4 separate regions of the Homo sapiens genome follow, and all the other regions are linked to region 1. Evidence: promoter capture Hi-C in 16 types of primary human blood cells and fetal thymus (Javierre and others, 2016). All regions are on one chromosome and are shown on one strand. The core of a region is centred on a gene start or on the middle of the fragment in contact, and the rest is flanking DNA. Distances in the headings are between cores, read along the strand shown.

Region 1 (3,136 bases), core at 589-3,088:
TGGATGTGGTTTAACATGGAGAACAGTACCAGCAATTAAGGGTTTGTATTTAATTTTTACAAGTAAAAGTAAACGTTGAAGAAAGAGAGCAAGCCCTAACAATCTGAGATCATTTTTCCTTTATCTTTCACAACATGGAGGCACAAGAAGTCAACAACTTTTAACTTCTCAGAAGGCTCCCTGTGGATCAACTCAATCAATGTATCTGGGCCTCACTCCAGTAAGCCCCAACATTGGCTTTATTTATTAGAGAGATAAATAGCTCTGTGAGTTCACAACATGGTGAAAATTTTCTTAACAAAAACCACAGTCTTTAATTGGCTTCGAAGTTAGATGAAGAAATAAGTTTTAATATTGGCATTACATTGGATACTTTTCAAGAGTTCAGAAATATTAGTCTGCTTAATCTCCCCTTAAGATCTCAGAAGCACTGCAAAGGGAGTTATGTTTATGAAAACATTAAAACTGATTTTTCCCTAGTGTAACAATAACCATGTATCCTTATGCATTTGTAGTGTCGCCACTTTTTTTCTTTATCCTTCGTCAGAACTTGTGTTTATACAAATCAGACAGAAACCAGATTCAACCAACAGCTAAAAATTATTTACTCACATGCTTAGTTTAAAACATTCTGGTATCATACCACACCACACTGAAAAACATCACGACGTACTGTATGGAGTGGAACCAAATAAATACGCTAAAGAGTATTTTCCAGTATTCGCTGTTACAAAATCATAACATCCTATGATACAAACAACGAGATTGTATAACGTCCCCACATCGTTTTTTCAGAACTAACAAAAAAAAAAAAAAAAAGGTGGAGAAACTCAGCAAAACAAAGTGGCGAGAAAAGTCGGGGGAGGGGCGGTAGAAGAGAAGGGGCGGAGAAACACGACACTGAGGCGGTGATATCACCCACAGCCAACGGCATGGAATTCAGAAAGTTAAGTGTCACCCAGCAATCTCGGTGCGGACTCGCGGCGCGCCTGCACAGCGTGGCGGCTGCATCCCAGCCAAGCAGGAAGGGGGAGGGGGAGGCCTGACTGAGTTCGCTCGGGGGCAGCTGAGGGGAGGGCTGCCCGCCTCCCGGACGGCGCACGTTCGAGTCCCGGGTCGGGAGACTTGTCCGTCGCCCGACAATGATTTCATCTTTTCGGAAGAGCTGCCGCCTGGGCCGCGGCTGCCACGTGCCTGGTCTGGCCCCGTGCGCTGCGCCGGGGGACCTACCCGGACGGGGCCGCGGCCGCCGCGGGGCGCAGAGGCAGCAGAAGGGAAGGGCTGGCGGCCGGGAGGGGATCGGGGTGGCCAAAACTGGGCTAGGGGATTGCTCCGCGGAGTCCGCCGGCCTCAAGGGGCTGCCCTGCGGAGTGCACCCACCCTCCGCGCCCAAAGGCGGAAAGGCCAGAGCGCGGGGCAGGTTTCGCAACTCCGAGGGTGGATGCAGGCTGTGGCCGGGCGGGATGGAGCGGCCGTGCGTTTCCAGCGCCCCCGGCCTGGCGGAGCCCCATTCTCGGCCTGCGCCCCGCCGCGCAGTGCGCGCTCCCGGCGGCGTGACCGTGGCTGTCGGGCCCCCGCCCGAGCCGGGCAACCGGCCACCCGTGTAGGGGACAGTGGCGGCCGCGGGGCCCGGCGCCGCGCTGTTCGCAGCCCGCCACTCCTTCCGCGCTCCAGGCCCTCTGCGCCTCCTCCCCCGGCCCCGGAGAAATGCTTGTACCTTCCACCGCCTCCTCCACCATCTCGTCGTCGCTATCCATGGCGGCTGGGGACACTGCCCAGCTCGGGGCTGCGCGGCTGCCTCCCGTCCCTCTGGGTGCTCCCGGCGGCTGAGCGAGCTCTGGGGCTCGCGAGTTTGGAGGAGGAGGAGGAAGAGGAGGAGCAGTCGGGGCTGGCTCGCACTGCCTCCCCCTACAGCCCTTTCAATTCCTTGGCCTTCAGCTGCTGCGGCAGCAGCCGTCGTCCCCCCTCCCTTCGCCCACTTGCCCCTCGCCTCGGAGGCTCCGGTGTGCCGCCTTGGCCGCTGCCGCTGCTGCAACTTTCTCCTGTAATACCCTCTCTTTGTTATCGAGCAGCTGATCCGCTGACATCACCCAGCGCCGGTGCGCTCCCTCCCTCGCTGATTGACAGTTCCCTGTCCCTTTCCAGAAGTAAGGCTCCTTAAAACGAAAGGCGCTCCGGGGCCGCGCGTATTCCGCGTCCCAGCCAACCCGCCTCCGGCCCGTCAGCGTTTCTCTTTTGCTTAGGTGCGGCTTGGCGCGCCCCGAGCGCTCAACGCGGTCCTGGGCGCTGCGGGCTTCTCGCGGACACTTGGACCGCCCGTAGGGGCTCCGAGCTCCCGACCTCCCGTTGTGCCGGGAGCAACTTGAAAGTCCGTCGTGCACTGTCCGTGTTCCCTCGAGACAACCTCCAAAGTGCCAGGGAAGCTAAGGAAGCGTTTCTGACGCTCTGGCGCCTGGACTTCCTCTCACCCTCGCCCCCACATCACCCCGTCGCCACCGGGAGCTGCACGAGTGCGACACGCAAGGGAGCGCAGGTGTCCTCGCGGTCCCGCATCACATCCGCAAGCCGATTTCCCCAGCTCGGGGGCTGTTATCTGGCCCGGATTCCGCAGGATGGCGGGTCCACCCCAGCGCCCCCACTCCCCGCCCTCCTTCGGGTCGCCAGGCCCTCGGGTGATTCAGAAATTCATCAAATCCAAATGGCAGCGGGCTCTCTGTCAGGCAGGAAACAAGCCGCACCGAAGGCTCGGCAGGTTCCTCCTTGCTGCTGTGGTAATGGAAAAGGAGCCGCCGAGTGGAGCTAACGAGGAAGGAAGGACCCTCCGTCTGGCGCGCCTCTTTCCCGCGCCTCCCGCCCTGTACGTGTGATGTCCCCAGCTGTCTCTCTGTTTCTCCAAGTGCCAACCACTTCACAGATTCAGGCGTCCTCAAGTGGAGAAAACCATTGGGCACCCGGCTTCCGGCCCGGCCACTTAGTGTCGTTATGGCGCTGCCTCTTACAGGTGGCGGTAAAGGGCGACTGTAAATAGCCGATTAAACAGATGTAAATGTACACAATGTACCGTGGAATTACCGGGTGCCGCTCTGGGCACCCGCCAAGAACAGCTACTGCATGGAGGGGAGGAGGGAGCAAAAAA
Region 2 (3,559 bases), core at 611-3,110, 450 kb before region 1:
ATGGTGAGCATAGATTGCTGGGGGTAGGAGGAGGAGGCAATAATGAAAACAGGCTGATTAGAAGGCCAAAGGCCATCAACATAGCTCATGTAAAAAAACTACAGAGTGAACTAGCCTAGTAGCAATGAAGATAGGAAGACTCGAGATATACTTTGGAGGCAAAATTAACATGATTTGGTAATGGACTGGGAGAAGGTAGGAAAAGGTATAAATAAATGACTTCTCAACTAGAAAATTCTTTTCTTCCCAATGAAATTTTATTTATCCTCCCAAACTCAACTAAAATGTAAACTTCCCATCAGAATAGCTAAGATCTGTCTCCTTCACTATTATAACACTAATATTATTAAACCTTAGGTTATGAAGAGTTGTTTCCTTATATATTTTCCCCACAAATGAGTGAGTTTCTTTACAGGAGGGGCCATATCTAATTTCTTGCTCTAGTTCACATAAAAAAAACACAGTGCCACACACATCACAGGTCATCTCAGGTAACCCCACTAATGGTCTCAGATCCAGGACAACTCCTTATTCTTTTGTTCTTCCTTTGATAAGCACAAGAATTCAGTCTGCTTTCTTCTCCTTTCAGCTCTTCTATTTTTTGGAGTTCTGTTTTCCCTAAGACTAGCTGCAGAATTAACTGCAGTCTCTCATTAGCCCTTCCCATTTCTTGTGGCCTCCAAAAACAAATATATGGGGATTCTTTTTGTAAAGTGCTTGGTACTAATTATTATGGAGAAACAGAGGATAACAAAATTAGACACAGGATTTATATGATCTTACAATAGTGGTCTCTGACCTATACAATACTTGACTCCTTTTGTAAGACGGTAAACTGAATGCACTGGCTTCTGATCTTTACTTTTATTCCCAAGGATAAAGGTCACTAAAGGTTCTTCCTTTTTTATGGAGGCCTCCCTTCCCAGAACATAGGCCTTCAGATGAAGCCTAGCCAAAATAATCAGTGCTTCTTGTCTCAAGTAAATAACTTGCACCTGATAGCCTCCTAAGTATGTAATATTAGCAATGGAATTAAAAACAAATGTAATTCTGCCAGCCTTGTTTTTCCAAACAAAATGAAAAAAGCTTAATGTTGTAAACCTAGATACTAACTATAGACCAATGTCCCTAAAGAAAAAGATAAAAAAAAAAAAGGGGGGGATGTCAAGTTTATTCAAGAAAGTAAATGTCTCAAAAAGAAATTACCACCTTTTAATTTCTTTCTCCTCTTGAACCAAGTTCTTGGTTTCCTCTTCAAAAGAAGTTTTTCATTCTCAGTAATTATTCTAAATCCTGCCTTTATTTTCCAACTATTACACATCAGAAAAAAGGTCATATGGGGAAAAAAATTCAGATTTTCCTGAAAGACTTGTCAAACACCATATATAAGAAGTATCAGGGCCGGGCGCAGTGGCTCACGCCTGTCATCCCAGCACTTTGGGAGGCCGAGGTGGGTGGATCACGAGGTCAAGACATCGAGACCATCCTGGCTAACACAGTGAAACCCGGTCTCTACGAAAAAAAAAAAAAAAATACAAAAAATTAGCCGGGCGTGGTGGGTGGTGGCGGGCGCCTGTAGTCCCAGCTACTCGGGAGGCTGAGGCAGGAGAATTGTTTGAACCCAGGAGGCGGAGGTTGCAGTGAGCGGAGATAGCACCACTGCACTCCAGCCTGGGAGACAGAGGGAGACTCCGTCTCAAAAAAAAAAGGAAGTATCGGCCGGGCATGCTGGCTCACGCCAGAATTCCCAGCACTTTGGGAGGCTGAGGCAAGCGGATCATCTGAGGTCAGGAGTTTTAGACCAGCCTGGCCGAGATGGTGAAACCCCATCTCTACTAAAAATAAAAAAATTAGCCAGGCGTGGTGGCGGGCACCTGTAATCCCAGCTACTCGGGAGGCTGAGGCAGCAGAATTGCTTGAACCCAGGAGGCGGAGGTTGCAGTGAGCTGAGATCATGCCACTGCACTCCAGCCTGGGCGACAGAGCAAGACTCCATCTCCAAAAAAAAGAAGTATCTTTTTGCTAACTAGATCGGAGACATAAATGTTTTTTTTTTTCCCCCCTGAGACAGGGTCTCGCTCTGTCAGAATGCAGTGTCAGGATCACAGCTCACTGCAGCCTTGACCTACCAAGTGCAAGCAATCTGCCCACCTCAGCCTCCAAGTGGCTGGGACTTCAGGCACCTGCCACTATGCCCGACTAATTTTTGTATTTTTTGTACAGATGGGGTTTTGCCATATTGCCCAGGCTAACCTTTTCTTTTTGATGTAAAACTTTCTCATGATCTTTTGCAAGTTCATCTACTGATAAGAAAATCTCCCAAGTTCTAGCTGTGATATTGTGAAATATGTGTGAAATATATATATTTAGTCTTGCTCCCCATTTCCTGGCATACAAGTCCTAAAATCCTTGGAATCTCCAAAGTAGTAAGTGTTCTTTTGTGTGCTAAAGATTGAGTAATGGCTGGCAGCCCCTAGGTATCTTCAGGATGGGGGCTAGTCACCAGAAAGACCAAGGCAGGATTATAGGGTTGGGACTTTCAGCCCCACTCCCAACCTCTGGGCCTCGGGAAACAGGGCTGAAGGTTAAGTCAACCACCAATAGCCAATGACTTAATCAATCATGCCTACTTAATCAAGCTTCCATAAAAACCCAAAACGAATGAGTTCAGAGACTTTCCTGATAGCTGAACATGTGGAGGTTCCTGGAGTGTGGCATGCCCAGCAAGGGCATGGGACCTCCATGACCCTTCCCCAATACTTCACGCCCTATGCATTTCTTCATCTGTATCCTTTAAATATCCTTTATGATAAACTGGTAAATGTGTTTCTCAGAGGATCTGATGCTATCTCCAAGTAGACAGTGTCAGAACTGAATTGAATTAGAGGACACCCAGCTGGTGTCCACTACAGAACTGACTGACTAGTTTATTGGTCGGGAGAAATCCCACACACTTCATGGTAATCAGATGTCCCAGAGGTCTTCTGTGTTAACTGTTGAGAGCATAGTGAGACAAAGAGTTTGCTTTTCTACTCACTAACAAATAATTGTTTAAAGATATTCTTAAGTCCTGAAAAATAATTGCATATTATCACCACCCAGTTTAATATAAAACATATGAAAAGTATTTTAGTTAAATAAAAAAAGTAATTGCTCATTCCCTTCAAGTAGTGTATATATTTTGGCATATTTACAAAGTGAAAAGAAATCAAACACCCAATTATGACCAAACACTGACTTTAAACCAGGAGAAAACAGCATAGGACTTCTTTCATTTAAAAACAAAAACAAACAACAACAAAAAACTGTTATTCTAATGAAAATAAAGGCTATAAAGCTACATTTGTCTCTTGATATACTCAATGAAAAAAATATACAGGAATGTTGGCTGGGCACGGTGGCTCATGCCTGTAATCCCAGCATTTTGGGAGGCCGAGGTGGGCAGATCACTTGAGGTCAGGAGTTCGAGACCACCCTGGTCAACATGGTGAAACCCTGTCTCTATTAAAAACACAAAAATTAGCCAGGCGTGGTGGTGCCCACCTGTAGTCCCAGCTAC
Region 3 (3,647 bases), core at 290-2,789, 490 kb before region 1:
AGTATTCATCAAATGTTAACTGTAACATTAGCTCTGGATCACACTACTAGTAAAATTTTAAAATGAGGAAATATTAGAATATTTCTGCAGAATAAAATGCTTATTCATCGCATACCATGCTTAAGGAGATGAATTTAAAACCTGGTCCCTGCCTCAAGGAATTTATAATTTAGTTGAGAAGGGGAAAGAAAGTAGATGACAAGTTAAACAACAATGCAAGAAATAAATAACAATTTGAAACAATATAAGATCTATCACAAAGCAATGCATAATTAATTATATTCCAAATAATCTAGAAAATATGTCTGTGGGATTCCAAGAGTGAAAATAAAGTGGACTGGGAGGCCATCATGAAGTCTTGGAAGATGGCTAGGATGTGCATAAAAGAACAAAAAGGAATCTGGGCAAGTAAAAAAAAAAAACTTAATCCCAAAAGGAAGAAAGTATCACACTTTTTTCTCCCTTATTATGGAGGAGAGAGTAGTAGGCAGCGGTCATTAGAAGACGCTTTTCAGATTGTTTTTATTTTATTCCCTTCATAACCTCTAGGTGCCAAGGTTCTTATTAATAGAAGAACAGAAGGCTGGACGAGGTGGCTCACGCCTGTAATCCCAGCATTTTGGGAGGCCAAGGTGGGTGGATCACCTGAGGTCAGGAGTTCATGACCAGCCTGGCCAACATGGTAAAACCCTATCTCTACAAAAATACAAAAATTAGCCAGGCATGATGGCGGGTGCCTGTAATCCCAGCTACTCGCAAGGCAGAGGCAGGAGAATCCCTTGAACCCAGGAGGCGGATGTTGCAGTGAGCAGAGATCACGCCACTGCACTGCACCGCACTGCCTGAGCGACAGAACGAGACTCCGTCTCAAGAAAAAAAGAACAGAAAAGAGTCCTGAGACGAAAAAGATAGGTCATCTGTAGGATTCCATGCACTATTCGTTTACTATCCTTAAATCCAGTTCTAAGATACAGGCTATGTGGGAAGCTTCCAAAACAAGCCAGCACTACCCCAACACCTTCAGTCAAAGTACTGATGTTTTGTCTCTGGCATTTCACTTTCATTGTGGCTTTCTCTGAAAATCCAGTAAATTCATTAATAACACAGAGTTCAACCCATTATGCATCTACTGACCTGAAAAAGCTGACCTTCGGCCGGGCGTGTTGGCTCATGTGTGTAATCCCAGCACTTTGGGAGGCCGTGGCGGGCGGATCACCTGAGGTCGGGAGTTTGAGACCAACCTGACCGACATGGAGAAACCCCATCTCTACTAAAAATATAAAAATTAGCCGGGCGTGGTGCCACATGTCTGTAATCCCAGCTACTCAGGAGGCTGAGGCAGGAGAATCGCTTGAACCCGGGAGGCAGAGGTTGCAGTGAACTGAGATCATGCCATTGCACTCCAGCCTGGGCAACAAGAGCGAAACTCCACCTCAAAAAACAAAACAAAACAAAACAAAACAAAAAAAATGACTTTTAACTTTACAAAGTTACATTTGTATCTCTAGGACCCTATTACACCAGCATCACTACCTAAAAACTATTAAAACAAACCATGTATAATCTTCAGTTATTTTCTTTTTTTTGCATTTTTATTTTGTTCACATAGTAGTAAATGTGAGCAAAGATTTTACTCTGGAAGAAATGTTTGTATAACATAGACAATGCCCTGTACATAAGATATCTGAATGTTTCCATGTTTTGAATTAAACTCATCAAAATCCCTCATATTATCTTTAAACACTCACTGCACCCATGTTGCCATCCCCAAGTTAAAATGAACAATTCTAAGGAGGCCAAGGCTGAAGGATCACTTGAGCCTAGGAGTATGAGAATAGCCTAGGCAACATAGGGGGACCCGTCTCTACAAAAAATTTTAAAATTAGCCAGACACGGTGGTATGTGCCTGTGGTCCCAGCTACTTGGGAGGCTGAGGCAGAAGAATACTTTAGCCTGGGAGGCTGAGGCTGCAATGAGTTATGATCCTGTCACTGTATTCCAGCCTAGGTGACAGAGTGAGACCCTGTCTCTATAGAAAAAAATTATTAAAAATTATATTTCTGGTTTTAGGGAAAACAGGATTCAGAAAGAGAAGCTTTCTTTACCAGGTAATAAGGAATTTGCCTATGACTATTATCACAATTTTACAGAAGAAAAAACACTGGCTGGACTTTGAATACAGGTTTGACTGTAACAGCTTCAATTAATTACATTATAACACACTGCCTCAAATTTAATACAAGACTGAAATTGTAATGAGATGTGATTTTAATTGGTAAAAACTGGTCACAGTTTTTCTCCAGCGTTAAGCAAAAGATATTCAAGTATAAGTGATACCACTGAGGATAAGAATTATTTAAAAAGACAACAGTAATAACTGTATATTTACAGTTTAATTTTCTAATACATACTATGTTAACTTTTAAAGTTTTCAATATAAACTAAAAGAAGAAACCTAAGATGTTAGAAGTGTACAACAACCAAAGACAAACAAGGAAATAAGAAAAGTATCCTAAGCCTCTCCCAAATTGGGTCACCAGTTCCTGAATGTGTTCAATGTCACCTTTTTTTTTTTTTTTTTTTTTTTTGACCTAATGAAATACCAAATTTCTTGGTAGGCTTACTGGAGACAATTTTTTTTAAACTAGACTTAATTTCTGTTTTAATTATTTAAAATTATTAAATCAAACCACCTGATAAGGACAGAATAAATTTAAATATATTAATGTAAAATTTATCCAACTATTGAATATTGGTCTGAAAACACTTATTCATGAAAGTGATAAATTTTCGGTTATCAGATGGGCAGACAGAACACATCTAAAACCACTACTGAAATGATACTTTATCTGTCAGAATCTGAGTGACAAGAAAATTAAAGGCCAGGTACGGTGGCTCATGTCTATAATCCCAACACTTTGGGAGGCCAAGATGGGAGGATCGCTTGAGGCGAGGGGTTTGGGACAAGCCTGGGCAAAACAGGGGCACTCTGTTTCTACAAAAGATTTTAAAATTAAAAAAAAAAGATAATAAAAATAATTTTAAAAAGAAATGTTACTTGAAATCATCTTACTCCACAAATTAGGAAAGCACAGAATGGGGGAGGTTTGGTGCTGTTTTCATTTTTAATCAGGATACACAAATTCTAAAGCAAAAATAGGCAAGGGGCAGTGGCTCACGCTTATAATCTCAGCACTCTGGGAGTGTGAGGCCGGAGGATCTCTTGAAGCTAGGAATTCGAGATCCGCCTGGGCAACAAAGCACAAGACCCCCATCTCTTAAAAAAAAAAAAAACAAATTAGCTGGGTGCGGTGGTGTGTGCGTGTAGTCCCAGCTACTTGGGAGGCTACAAGCACAGTAGCGCAAGGCTGCAGTGAGGTATGGTCATGCCACTGCATTCTAGCCCTGTCTGTAAAAATAAGTCAATAAATAAGCAAAAACATGGTTTTGTTCTGAATTGTGACTGATGTGACTGACATTTATTGATTGGAAAATTAAATTTAGCTCACCTTGAATTCTTCTAAACAGTTAAGAAGTTATGTATCAGGCTAGTTGCAGTGGCTCATGCCTATAGTCCCAGCACTTTCAGAGGCTGAGGCAGAAGGATCACTTGAGCCTAGGAGTTTAAGACCTGCCTGAATGACAGT
Region 4 (3,141 bases), core at 62-2,561, 510 kb before region 1:
AGACCCTGGAGTGCAAGGAGTCAGGCCGACAGTTCTGCATCGCTGTTACCCATCTAAAAGCACGCACTGGCTGGGAGCGGTTTCGATCAGCTCAAGGCTGTGACCTCCTTCAGAACCTGCAAAACATCACCCAAGGAGCCAAGATTCCCCTTATTGTGTGTGGGGACTTCAATGCAGAGCCAACAGAAGAGGTCTACAAACACTTTGCTTCCTCCAGCCTCAACCTGAACAGCGCCTACAAGCTGCTGAGTGCTGATGGGCAGTCAGAACCCCCATACACTACCTGGAAGATCCGGACCTCAGGGGAGTGCAGGCACACCCTGGATTACATCTGGTATTCTAAACATGCTCTAAATGTAAGGTCAGCTCTCGATCTGCTCACTGAAGAACAGATTGGACCCAACAGGTTACCTTCCTTCAATTATCCTTCAGACCACCTGTCTCTAGTGTGTGACTTCAGCTTTACTGAGGAATCTGATGGACTTTCATAAATACTTGCTTTTGTCTTTTTAATCACAGGAGTCTATTTTTTTTTTTTTTTTTTTTTTTTTGAGACAGAGTCTCGCTCTGTTGCCTAGGCTGGAGTACAGTGGCCTGATCTCGGCTCACTGCAAGATCCGCCTCCCGGGTTCATGGCATTCTCCTGCCTCAGCCTCCAGAGCAACTGGGACAACAGGCGCCCGTCACCACGCCCAGCTAATTTTTTGTATTTTTAGTAGAGACGGGGTTTCACCGTGTTAGCCAGGATGGTCTCGATCTCCTGACCTTGAATCACAAGAGTCTTAACAGGGAATGTTTCAGGAAACAAATAGGATAAGACAATGCCAGAGGAAGGATAGAAACATGGGAAGTTTCTATCATTTCATTTTCTGCGTTTCCAGCATGCCCTTGGAAAAGACTCCCTTTAGTCCCTTTTTCAATTAAAACCTATGGTGAAAAAGGCGTTTGCACTCCAATTTTGGCTTGTGTTGTTTTCTTTTCCTTAATATTACATTTTGATCATTTAAGGGCATTAAATTGGCTTGTTTTGGTCAGGTGTGGTGGCTGCTCATGCCTGTAATACCAACACATTGGGACGCCAAGGTGGGAGAATCACTTGAACCCAGGAGTTCGAGTCCAGCCTGGGCAACATGGCACGAGACCCCATCTCTATTTCTAAAATAATAATAAATTCGGTTATTTTGAAGCTTTTTCAATTTGAGGATGCTATAAAAACTTAGACTTGTTGCTTGAATCTTCCATAATAGTATGTAGGAGCAATTTCTCTAAACAGCATTTTAAGTTATTTATTTGTGGGTTTTTAAAATGTCAACAAAATGCATGGCAGTATTTATTTTTTATATCTTCATATAAAATTAAGTAAATTATAGCATTATGAACATTTTAGAACCATGCAAGAGAAGTTATAGAGAAAGTAATTTATGGTGATTTTCATAAAGCTTTAAAATATTTTCATTTGGGCTATAACAAAATGAGTACAAAGGAACTATTTAGCCTGGAGGGGCTTTTGTTATTTAAATGTCAGATTTCTTTGATACATTCTTCAAAAATAATCCTTGTCCTGCCTCTATGTTCCATTATTGTGTTTCTTTTTTTTTTTTTTGGAGACAGAGTCTCACTCTGTTGCCCAGGCTGGAGTGCAGTGGTGTAGTCTCGGCTCACTGCAAGCTCTGCCTCCCAGGTTCACACCATTCTCCTGCCTCAGCCTCCCAAGTAGCTGGGACTACAGGCGCCTGCCACCACGCCCGGCTAATTTTTTGTATTTTTAGTAGAGACGGGGTTTCACCATGTTAGTCAGGATGGTCTCAGTCTCGATCTCCTGACCTGGTGATCTGCCCGCCTTGGCCTCCCAAAGTGCTGGGATTACAGGCGTGAGCCACAGCGCCCGGCCTTATTGTGTTTCTTGAAGAGATTCCAATTAGTTTTCAATTATTTAACCAATTAGTTTTCATTATTGCTGTTATATTTAAACTTTACCATTGGAATAATATTGGTATGCGTTTGATATTAGTCACTCGATGTCATCATTATTTGTATTGGAATGTGCTATTCACAATAGGTTATTTAGAAGCTGTATGTGGCAGTGGCCAAGAGAGTCAGTAGGACCTTCTTTTCAGAGATAGGAAACTTTCTAGAAAGCCTGTTAATGGGCTTTCATTGAAATTTCCTAAGATAGCCAGATACTGTCATTCAAAATATCTAGAAAGAAGAATGTAAAAAGTTAGATAACCTGGGTCGGGTGTGGTGGCTCATGCTTGTAATCCCAGCACTTTCGGAGGCCAAGGTGGGCGGATCAACTGTGGTCAGGAGTTCGAAACCAGCCTGGCCAACATGGTGAAACCTCGTCTCTACTAAAAATACAAAAATTAGCTGGGCATGGTGGCAGGTGTCTGTAATCCCAGCTACTTGGGAGGCTGAAACAGGAGAATCGCTTGAACCTGGGAGGTAGAGGTTGCAGTGAACCCAGACTGCACCATTGCGCTCTAGCCTGGGCAACAAGAGTGAAACTCCATCTCAAAAAAACCTGGAATTCTCTTCCATCAGAAATAAAAGTAAAAATTACAGGTAAAGCCTCTTCCAAACAAAATAACTTATTGGTAATAGATATTTTAATTTGTGAGTTGTAAATACATAAGATTAATAAATGGTCTTTTAAACCTAGTGCTTTTAATGTCTTTGTAGTCCAAAAAGAATCTGGGAGTAGATTTTCTCCTTTAATACTGTTTTATCATAATGACCCACATATATCCATTCACACATGGAGCCTTCACTGTAAAAGTGAACGTACATAGATCTGTAGCTGCAACAACGTCCACTGAAATGGATCACTCATTCTTTAATAGAACCACTTTTAAAACAAATGAGGTTTTCAGAAGTAACATAGTATGCACAGAATTTTGGGGCTACTGGAAAGAATGACAAGCACGGGAACATCTACCAAATGTAGAATTGGTTCAGATTTTAGCATGACTAATTGCTAGTCATATGTTGTTGAGAACAATACTGATTAGAATACTCATTATTGCAGGTACATTGTTTACCTACCCCAAAATACTTCAACCGGAAGAGAAACCATGGCAGCCTTAAATAAATAAATCTGGATAAGAATGAAGGCCAAAATAATGTCTGAGTTTCAAGTGT

The links. The method cuts DNA at HindIII sites, captures the fragments that hold promoters and counts their contacts. A CHiCAGO score of 5 or more calls a contact.
Region 2: a contact is called between a fragment that was not itself captured here and the fragment with the promoter of SETD7 in region 1, in 2 of 17 cell types (fetal thymus and naive B cells). The highest score is 6.8, in fetal thymus.
Region 3: a contact is called between a fragment that was not itself captured here and the fragment with the promoter of SETD7 in region 1, in 1 of 17 cell types (total CD4 T cells). The highest score is 5.2, in total CD4 T cells.
Region 4: a contact is called between a fragment that was not itself captured here and the fragment with the promoter of SETD7 in region 1, in 1 of 17 cell types (total CD4 T cells). The highest score is 5.5, in total CD4 T cells.

What each region holds. Positions count from the first base shown.
Region 1 is chr4:139,554,381-139,557,516 of GRCh38, forward strand. It overlaps SETD7 (SET domain containing 7, histone lysine methyltransferase), which reads right to left and starts at 1,839. Exons shown (of 8, transcript NM_030648.4): 1 at 1,718-1,839. The coding sequence starts at 1,757. RefSeq lists silencers at 1,147-1,336, 1,467-1,636, 1,697-1,756, 1,977-2,086 and an enhancer at 2,827-2,996. The HindIII fragment of the contact is 7,816 bases long and covers 1-3,136 here.
Region 2 is chr4:139,100,842-139,104,400 of GRCh38, forward strand. The region is part of intron 4 of ELF2 (E74 like ETS transcription factor 2); the gene reads right to left. Among named protein-coding and RNA genes, the nearest start is that of ELF2, 75 kb to the right of the region's middle. The HindIII fragment of the contact is 1,553 bases long and covers 1,085-2,637 here.
Region 3 is chr4:139,063,446-139,067,092 of GRCh38, forward strand. The region is part of intron 7 of ELF2 (E74 like ETS transcription factor 2); the gene reads right to left. Among named protein-coding and RNA genes, the nearest start is that of NOCT, 49 kb to the left of the region's middle. The HindIII fragment of the contact is 1,108 bases long and covers 986-2,093 here.
Region 4 is chr4:139,044,984-139,048,124 of GRCh38, forward strand. NOCT (nocturnin) reads left to right here. Exons shown (of 3, transcript NM_012118.4): 3 at 1-956. The coding sequence ends at 491. Among named protein-coding and RNA genes, the nearest start is that of NOCT, 31 kb to the left of the region's middle. The HindIII fragment of the contact is 252 bases long and covers 1,186-1,437 here.